Regions from separate parts of the Homo sapiens genome. Here region 2 is linked to region 1. Evidence: promoter capture Hi-C in human tissues and cell types (Jung and others, 2019). All regions are on one chromosome and are shown on one strand. Each heading gives the region's core, a stretch centred on a gene start or on the middle of the fragment in contact. The rest is flanking DNA. Distances are from core to core; before and after follow the strand shown. Region 1 holds the start of SNW1 (SNW domain containing 1). Region 2 overlaps NRXN3 (neurexin 3).

Region 1 (4,639 bases), core at 1,655-4,154:
GGTTCTCTGAGAACAATTCTACTCTCTATCCAGAATTCTAAGACTGGAGTGAATTGATTGCTTCTTGCAACCTGGCGCATTACTGATTCCAGCATGCACTGGGCTCTCTACATGAGCAGGCAGCTGCTAATTACCTATGATAATGAGGGATGGATAGGCACTGAAGATTCAGCATAGCTTAACACCAAACCCCCTCCCCAACAAAACCAAAGAAAGCACTAGGCCTTTGGGTATAATATTGTATCACGTTTGCAGTAGATTTGCTTTCTTAATTGTTTTGATAGGATTGCTATTAAAGTCAGTTTCTATTCTTTACACACCCCCAAAACAGCGAGGGACTATGACTGGTGGAAATGCCTTGCATGATGTGCCTCTGTGGAAAATGAGAGTGGATTGCAAAAGCTCTTCTCCACCCTGTTCTTTCAATCCTGCATCCCAGGTCTTGGTCTATGTCTTACTGATTTCCCATGTTAATTATTTTAACCTTGTCCTCAGTAGCCTCCTTTGTCTCTCATTGCCATAGAAACCCATTCTGCCTTAAGAATTGTCTTTCTTGCCTGTTCCTTTGACCCAGGCCCTCTACTTAAGTCCTCCTTCAGCTGCAAATCACCTGCTGAACTAAATCTAAGCTCCTTGATCTTGGCTTCCAGGACGTTCTATAATTTGCTTCTCTGTTTTTCTCCTTTTAGAAATAATACATTCCTGGAGCAGAGGTTGAAGTAGATCACTGTCAACCAAAATATTAACTGTAATAACTAACATATTTACATAGTACTTAAGAGTTAAGTAAAAACATATCCACCTACATTACCTCATTTAAGGCTCATACTCTGCTGTATTGTATATAATTATTTTACATTTATATAAATATAGGTAAAGCAGATAACATGATCAGCATTTTAAGTTCAATAAAACTGGGGCCCAAATAAATTAAATGACTTGCCCTATAAGAATTTATTGGTGCTGAAGCTACATCTTTTTTTTTTTTTTTTTTTTTTCTGAGACAGTTTCACTCTTGTTGCTCAGGCTAGAGTGCAACGACGCACGATCTCGGCTCACCACAACTTCCGCCTCCCGAGTTCAAGCGATTCTCCTGCCTCGGCCTCCCGAGTAGCTGGGATTACAGGCAAGCACCACCACGCCCGGCTAATTTTGTATTTTCAGTAGAGACGCAGTTTCTCCATGTTGGTCAGGCTGGTCTCAAACTCCCGACCTCAGGTGATCTGCCCGCCTCAGCCTCCCAAAGTGCTGGGATTAAAGGCACAAGCCACCACACCCAGCCAAAGCTACATCTTAAACTCTAATCTTCGGGCTCCCAGGCCATGCAGGTTATATTACACAATGTGATTAACAATCCTGTATTTACCAAAAGATTTTTTCTTTTTGTTTTTTTGGTTTACATGCTGTGGCAGGCAGAATTCTAGGATATCCCCCAAGATCTCCTCCTCACCCAACCCCCACAGTACCTGACCTACATAACCCCTGGGGCCATGACTATGAAGATTCTGATTCTGTTATGCGGTGTGGCAGAGTTGATTTTTTTTTTTTTTTTGAGACAGAATTTTACTTTGTCACCCACGCTGGAGTGCAATGGTGCAATCTCGGCTCACTGCAACCTCCACCTCCTGGGTTCAAGCGATTCTTGTACCTCAGCCTCCCAAGTAGCTGAGAAAACAAGAGCACATCACCACACCCAGCTATTCTTTTATATTATTTATTTATTTATTTATTTATTTATTTTTATTTTTTGAGACGCAGTCTCACTCTGTCGCCAGGCTGGAGTGCAGTGGCGTGATCTTGGCTCACTGCAACCTCCGTCTCCTGATTCACACGATTCTCCTGCCTCAGCCTCCCCAGTAGCTAGGACTACAGGAGCGCGCCACAACGCCCAGCTAATTTTTGTATTTTTAGTAGAGACAGGGTTTCACCATGTTGCCCAGGCTTTGTCGAACTCCTGAGCTCAGGCAATCCGCCCGCCCCGACCTCCCAAAGTGCTAGGATTACAAGTGTGAGCTACTGCGCCCGGCCAAGAGTTGATCTTAAAATAGGGAGATTATCCAGGTGCTCCTGATCTAATCACATGAGCCCTTTAAAAGCAGGGCATTTTTCTCCAACAGTGGCAGAAGAGGAGTCAGAAAGATGTGCCTCAGAAAGCAAATATCCATGTTGTGAACTACCAATAAATAGGGCTCATGTGGGAAGGACTCGAGAGTGACCCCTAGGAGCTGAGGGTGGCCACCACTAACAGCACAAAACAAAACAGGGAACTCGATCCCACAACCGCCAGGAACTGATTTTTGCCAACAAGAATGAGTTAGGAGATGGATTTTTCTCCAGAGCCTCCTATGAGATTTCAGCCTTGTCATACCCTGGGCAGAGAACCCAGACACTCGGTAAATTACCAAGGATTACGAAATATCTCCCCAAGAGAGTGTTTTGGCGGGTGAGAGGATATGGTTTAAAGAAAAGTTTTGAGTGTGAATGTTTTCAGAGAGTCCAAGGACTCTCCATTAGCTAGTCTCATTATTACCTGTCGTTTTAAACGCCCTATCACTCTTACTTAAAGTAGCTGTCCCCGGGAAGCTTTTGTATTTTGTACCCCTTCTCGGGGAACGGGACTGAGTAAGGAACGTAATAAAGCGGCCTAAAAGGCATCTCCCTGTATCTTTGATATTTTGCCTAGGGAACGCCCTATCATGTCGCATATAAGCGATCGAGTTATGCATTTGTTGCTAGCTGAAGAGATTATTCCTTGATAACCGCTTGGTCTGGTCAGAATACAAACGGTACTCCTGTTCAAAGAACTACAAATCCCAGAAGGCCTTTTCGGCCAGAGCGCCTGCGCATCGCGCACTCCTTCCTTTCCGCTCCTCATCATCTGGAAAGACCCGCCCAGCGGTGCTGTCGCTCGCGCTGGAAGAAGCGGAAGAAGATGGCGCTCACCAGGTGGGTTGTTGATTGGGGTCCTCGATACGGAAGGGTCTGGGAGTACCAGTCTTCTTCATTTCTCTTCCCATACCCTCCGGGCGGTGACCTGACCCGGGGCACAGAATGACGTGGGCCAAGACTACGGCTACGCCCTCCCGCTGGCCGCCGCTACGACTAGGCCTAGTCGAAGCTGGGGTCTTTCAGCGGTTTCCCGGGTTTAGTTCACCCGCTCACCGAGGCCGAAAGCTGCGGAGTGGTCTCAGACACTGAAGAGTGGGTTTTTCGCGTGAGCATCTTGCGGGGAGCGGACAGCGCTCCCTCAGGTCCGCGGCTCGGGCGAACGAGATGGGGTTGGTGACGGTAGTGGCTTATTTGGGCGGAGTGAAGCGCGCGGGCTGCGACTGCGCGGCTTTCCGGCCGTTTGCCTGTGGTGGTCTCTCTCCTTTCGCTGTCCACTGGGTGTCCCGAAACAAGGATTCCTGAAAAAAGAGGCCCGGAGCTGAACACAGATTTAAATGAGCCACAGTAGTGACCGCCGTCTGCTGATATGCGCCACTGCTCCGCATTTTAACTTTGGAGCTTAGAATTTCTTCCGTAGATAGAACCACCTCAGTTTTGCTGTTTCCGGTTACCTTAGTAACCGTCTGTAAAGTGCTCTCCGCCTTTAAGAAAAAGATGCTTTTCAGTGGGAGAGTCCGAGAAGTTACGCTACTCCTACTAGTTCCCAGCCTTGCTGCCCCATTTTAAGTGGAAAAACTTTCCATGCGAACTCAACAGGAAAAGGCTAGTGTTCAGGAAGGTTATAGATAAAGTAATCCTTTCAGGACATCAGCTTGAGCTCTTTTAACACCCTTCATTCTCCTCACGCATGTTTTTTTTTCTGGCTGATGACAGTATGACTCCAAAAGTTTTAATCAAAAAATTATTTTGGGAATTACTGTTGGTGCCTTGCTCTGTCCTGGGGGTTGTGTACACAGAAGAAAATCTGTCTTTGGCAACAGGGAAGATAGGGGTGCAAGGTATACAGACATAAAACAATTACAGAACACAAAATGTGCATTTGTGTAATACTAACCTTAGTGCAAAAAGAATTGAATGGAATAAGTTATGTGGGCTGGAGAGTTTTCTCCCCACCCTCGTTTCTAAAATTTTTTTGCTTTTTTTTTTAACTTTATTTTTTGAGATGCGGTCTCGCTGTGTTGGCCAGGTTGGTCTTGAATTCTTGGCCTCAAGCAGTCCTCCTGTCTCGGCCTCCGAAAGTGCTAGGATTACAGGCATGAGCCACCATGCCCGGCATCTGAAATTTTTTTAAAAAAAAACTAGAAATAGGGTGTTACTGCGTTGGCCAGAGTGGTCTCCAACTCTTGGCCTCCATCAATCTTCTCACCTAGGCCTCCCAAAGTGCTGGGATTGCAGGCATGAGCTACCATGCCCAGCCAAGAGTTTGTTTAGTAAATGTTACAGGCAGCAAACATTTGAGTGCTCCCCAGGTGTGAGACACTGTGTCATAGACTAGTAAAGTTATGAGGGGAGACTTTGTGGAAAAGGTGGAATTTGAAATGGACACACAGGAAAAATTTCTAGAGATGTCATGGGTATTTTTTATTTATTTTATTTTTTGATATAGGGTCTCACTCTTGCCCAGGCTGGAGTGCAGTGGCCCAATCACAGCCCACTGCAGCCTCAACCTCCCAAGGCTCAGGTGATCCTC
Region 2 (4,559 bases), core at 842-3,341, 830 kb before region 1:
AGGCGCCAAGCAGCATGTTGTCTAAACACTTGGCATTCCCTCCATCTCAGAATGCACCAGATTCCCAAGCAGCAAATACAGCCCAAACACCACATTACACATACTATTGTGTCTTCCACAGCCATAATAAGGGTTGTTTGTGAAGTTGTCGTTGAGTGTTTTTGTCTTTCCCTCCAACATTTTCTATGGTGAATATCAGCCTTCTCTTTATGGCTTTATTTTATATTTGTGTTGATTTGATACACTCTGAAGCATGACAGAAAATACAGCACAGTCTCAAACTCTGTGAGCCAAGGCAGCTGGATATGGGGCGGACAAGGGACTGAGAAAGCAACCTCTAGGTCTACGTGGAGCCAAATGCCCTGGATATACCTTAAGAATGATGCTTCACAGATGTAGATTGTGTTGAGTTCTCACTTGTACTATTTATTTGGATTCTTGCTCTACTGCTATAAGGAAGGAGAAGCGAGTATTATCGTACTGATTTATAGTGTTGCATCTCATGGCCCAGAGAGGCCAAGAGATTTGCCTAGTTCTACATAGTCACTTAGTGGCAGAGCCAAGCCTAGATCCTAGGGTTGTTCACATCTCAGCCCTGTATACTCTCCCCTAGACTTCATCAGGAGCCCAGGAGAAGTGGAACAACAGCAAAAAGGGAGTGAAAGAGGAGACATGTCCCATTTAGTTATTACCTTTTATTCCACAGAGCAGTAATTTACTTGTGATTGGATGATATCAGTTACAAACTGTATCACCTAGGAAAATGTATATGTCAACAATATATGCAAAGGATAGAAAGGTATAACATGATGAGGGTGGAACATTCAGGAGAATGATTGAGTGGTGAGTATGCTACAAAAACTTTTCATTTATTCAAAACATCAGCTATTCAGTTATTCAAGACAACTATGACATGATCAGAAGTAAATAGTAAGGTACCCAAGAATCCAGACTTTATGATGCAAAACTCAGGTACAGAAGCTTATACTTTCAAAAAAAATCCCTCTCATTTATTTCCTCTCAATAAATTCTTCTCATTTATTTACTATTATGTTTAATGATTTATTCTTGCTTTGAGTACATTATTAATCATCTTGGTTATTTCAGTCCTTGTGCAAAATCAAGTTAAAAGTAAAAAATTAGAAAGTGATGGGGATAATACTGGATATAGCTATTAAAAAAATAGCTGATATCCAGACAATGAAGAAGAAGGTAGCAAACTAAAGATTCTATTTTTAAAGAAGCTGAAAAAAACTGGTAAACAACACAAAATATAGAAATATGACAAAGGCCCAACATCTAATATAACAATAATTATATTCATGATGATGCCCTGAGTCTTTAAGAAAAAGTTTAAAATGGTTGATATCCTACAAAATTTTTAAGAAAATGGGAGAGTATTAATTCATTTTGGAAAGATGATTGGCAGATTAGCTCAGATTAAAAATAGTTGCGAATGTGTAGAGGGATAAAATCTGAAAATTTCTCTTAGCAGGAACTTCTAATTGTCCAAAAATGGGAATCTTTTAGAAGAATCTTTAGGAGTGGAACTGTAGCATAATCAGAATCGCCTGGAAGACTCATTAAAATCATCTCATTTAATATTTACAATAATCCTGTGCTATTAACGTTCCCATATTTCATAGGGTAAGACTAGATTTCAGAGGGGTAACTAATCTGCCAAAGGTCACACATTAAAAACGGTTGATTCCATGGGTTGGGGGTGCACCGAGGATTTGCGTCTCTAAGTTTCTAGATGATGCTGATACTACCTGTCCACAGAAGGCACTTGGAAAGCCACTGCTCTAGAGGTTGACCAGGGAAAGTAGCAATAATTGCAAGAGAAGGACCAATAAGAAATGCAAGAACATGTAAGTGGGAGAGGCCAAATTCTCTTTTATGACATTCCCAAAGAACAAACACTCCCATGGGCTCCATGACTCTTTAACTAGGAGCAAACCTGGTATGCTGAATGCAGAACCTGCTACATGGATGCAAAGTATTTCTTTCCCTATTCAAGCTTTGGACACAGAATCTTTAGAGAAGCCCCAGTAAATCTAACTCCCCTCTTCAAGCTTCTCATTCAAGACTGTTTCTGGGAGAAAATGTCCCGGGCCTCAGTGGGATATCAAGATCCTTCTCCAGCATCAGGGGCATGTTGCATAATTCCTCAGGCGAGCACTGCCAGCCAATGTTGTCACAGGCACAGGCCCGCAGGAGCCTATAAAATCCTGATACACAAAATGTGTTGACATTAGTAATCTCATAAAGATGGATTTGCCGTTTGCTCAAAAGCTTTCCATAAAGACTGTTTGTCAAAGATAGGAAGTAAAAAGCAGATGCTGAAGGGCTCTTCTTCAAGGTCCTCTTGGGGGACAGGGTGTACACGGTCAGGGTCGGGGGACATGGCTCACCTTCCTCCTTCTTCCTCAGGTCCCTGAGCATAGATCATAGGCTTACCTGATCAGGCGGTGGGGCTAATCCTCAAACATCCTGATTTGTCTCCAGTACAGAGCCTTGGCTGAGGACTACAGACTAAGCAAATAGAAGTAGATGCTGTAAGAGCATTTACTGAATACTTACTGGATACCAGGCACAGCTGTAAGTGTTTTGCATGCATCATCTACTTTAATTTTTATGCCAATCCTGTGCTACTACCGTCCTTATGGGGAAGTAACTTGCCCAGCCTCACGTATTCTAATGCTGTGTGTTCAAACCCTGGCACCATCTTTCCTTCAATGCAGAACTCTTGGCACTCTTCTTTCCTCTCTGGCTATTCCTTCTCAGCTTCCTTTGCTGGATGCCTCTTATCTCCTTGATCTCTAAATCAAGGGTCAAAAAAAACAAAAACAAAAACAAAAACCCTGTCTCTAAACAGCCAGATGGTAGATTTTGTTGGCCTTTGGCAGGCCATGAGTCTTTGTCACAACTACTCAGCTCTCCTGTTGTAGCTCAACAACAGCCACAGACAATAGATAAAGAAATGCAGATGAATGGTTCCAATTAAACTTTATTTACAAAAAGACATGAAAATCTGGTCACTGTCTGACAATTCCTGCTCCAAGTAATAGGGCTCCCTAGCATTTGGGAAGAGAATCAATGCTTTGGCCCCCACTAGCTACACTCAATTTATCTACGCTTCCATCCAGTCTCAAGCCTCTAAATAGCATGTGTATGCTAATGATTCTCAAATCCATAATTCTAGCCTAGATTTTTGTCTAAACTCCAACCTTACTCATACCATCACCAATTTCATATCTCTACTAGAGTGTCTCCTAGACACGGAAATGCAAGTCCAAAGCTGAACCCCTAATATCCAACCCTTCCCCTAAAACTGCATCTCTCTCAGCCTTACCCATCTTAGCAAACAACAGCTCATCAGTCCAGGTGCTCAGGCCTTAATCACATGCTTGGTGTCACCCTGGCCCCTCCCTTCCTCTCATACCCCAGACCCAATTACCAACAACCCCATCAAGCATAGCTTCAAGATATGCCCAGAATGAGACCTCTTCCGCCACTAACTTCATGGCCAAGCCACCTGGATTATGACAATAGTCTCCTAACTAGTCTCCCTCCACCCTCCCTTGTCCCTAAATTTCTATCCACACTCCGCAGGAGTGATCAACTTTTAACAGTATAAATCAGAGCATATTCACTCTGCTTCAATTTGTCCATGGCTCCGTCTCACTCCCAAACCTTCCATTCTCTGGCCCCTTGGAAGCTCAGATATCATCTCTACTCTCAGCCTTCCTCCCTCTGTACTAGCCACACAGGCCCCTTCCTGTGCCTCCAACTCACCAAGCACATTCCCACCTCAGGTCCTTTGCACTGGCTGCCTGTGACCATCTGCCCTGATAGCCTTTTGGCTCAGGCTCTAATTTTCTCAGGTATGAGCTTGAATACTACTTCAACATTGAGGCCTTTCCTGAATGTCTACATAAATTAATCACCCCCCCCCCTTATCTCCCCTATTTCTTCTTATTTTTCTCCATAGCATTTATCACCACCTAATAATGTATGTATTTGTATATTTCCTTTTTGTCTCTTTTCCTCAAATAGGAAATCAACCCCATGAGAACTAGGGCTCTGTATGTTTGGCTCACTGCTGGAAATCCTGAAGCTAATGCTATGCCTGTTATGGAGTAGATATTGAACATTCTTTAAAATAAAGAAATAGACAAACCAAAAACAAGTATATAATACCATCATCTAGTTTAACTCTGCAACCACTCTTGCAAATTGAAAATGCAGAGGTACAGAGGTAGAGTGACTTGCTGAAAGTTACACAAATGATGGATGATTTGACGCTAGAACACGGCCTTTCTGATTGGAGGTTCTGTCAGCCTCTCACACAAGATGTAAAATTCATAAATTCCTCCAATAATTGTTTCTAAGGAGAAGGAGGTTATGTTACAAAGTTATTTTTGTATTTCAACAGATGACTCCCAAAGCAGTGCTTATCAATTTATCTCACCAGTGTCTGTCTACATCACAAAGAATGAGAGACCATGCCATTTGATCCTGGTGGAGACATGACAGAGCTGGAGGAGAGCTGTTTG

Evidence for each region. The method cuts DNA at HindIII sites, captures the fragments that hold promoters and counts their contacts. A contact is called where the count stands out against the background at its distance.
Region 2: a contact is called between a fragment that was not itself captured here and the fragment with the promoter of SNW1 in region 1, in 1 of the 25 tissues and cell types used here (dorsolateral prefrontal cortex).

The regions. Positions count from the first base shown.
Region 1 is chr14:77,759,421-77,764,059 of GRCh38, reverse strand. It overlaps SNW1 (SNW domain containing 1), which reads left to right and starts at 2,904. Exons shown (of 14, transcript NM_012245.3): 1 at 2,904-2,946. The coding sequence starts at 2,933. It overlaps SLIRP-OT1 (SLIRP overlapping transcript 1), which reads right to left and starts at 3,292. Exons shown (of 2, transcript NR_161324.1): 1 at 2,944-3,292. RefSeq lists enhancers at 1,391-2,165, 2,713-3,032, 2,940-3,714. The HindIII fragment of the contact is 5,855 bases long and covers 293-4,639 here.
Region 2 is chr14:78,584,540-78,589,098 of GRCh38, reverse strand. The region is part of intron 4 of NRXN3 (neurexin 3); the gene reads right to left. Among named protein-coding and RNA genes, the nearest start is that of NRXN3-AS2, 120 kb to the left of the region's middle. The HindIII fragment of the contact is 3,510 bases long and covers 337-3,846 here.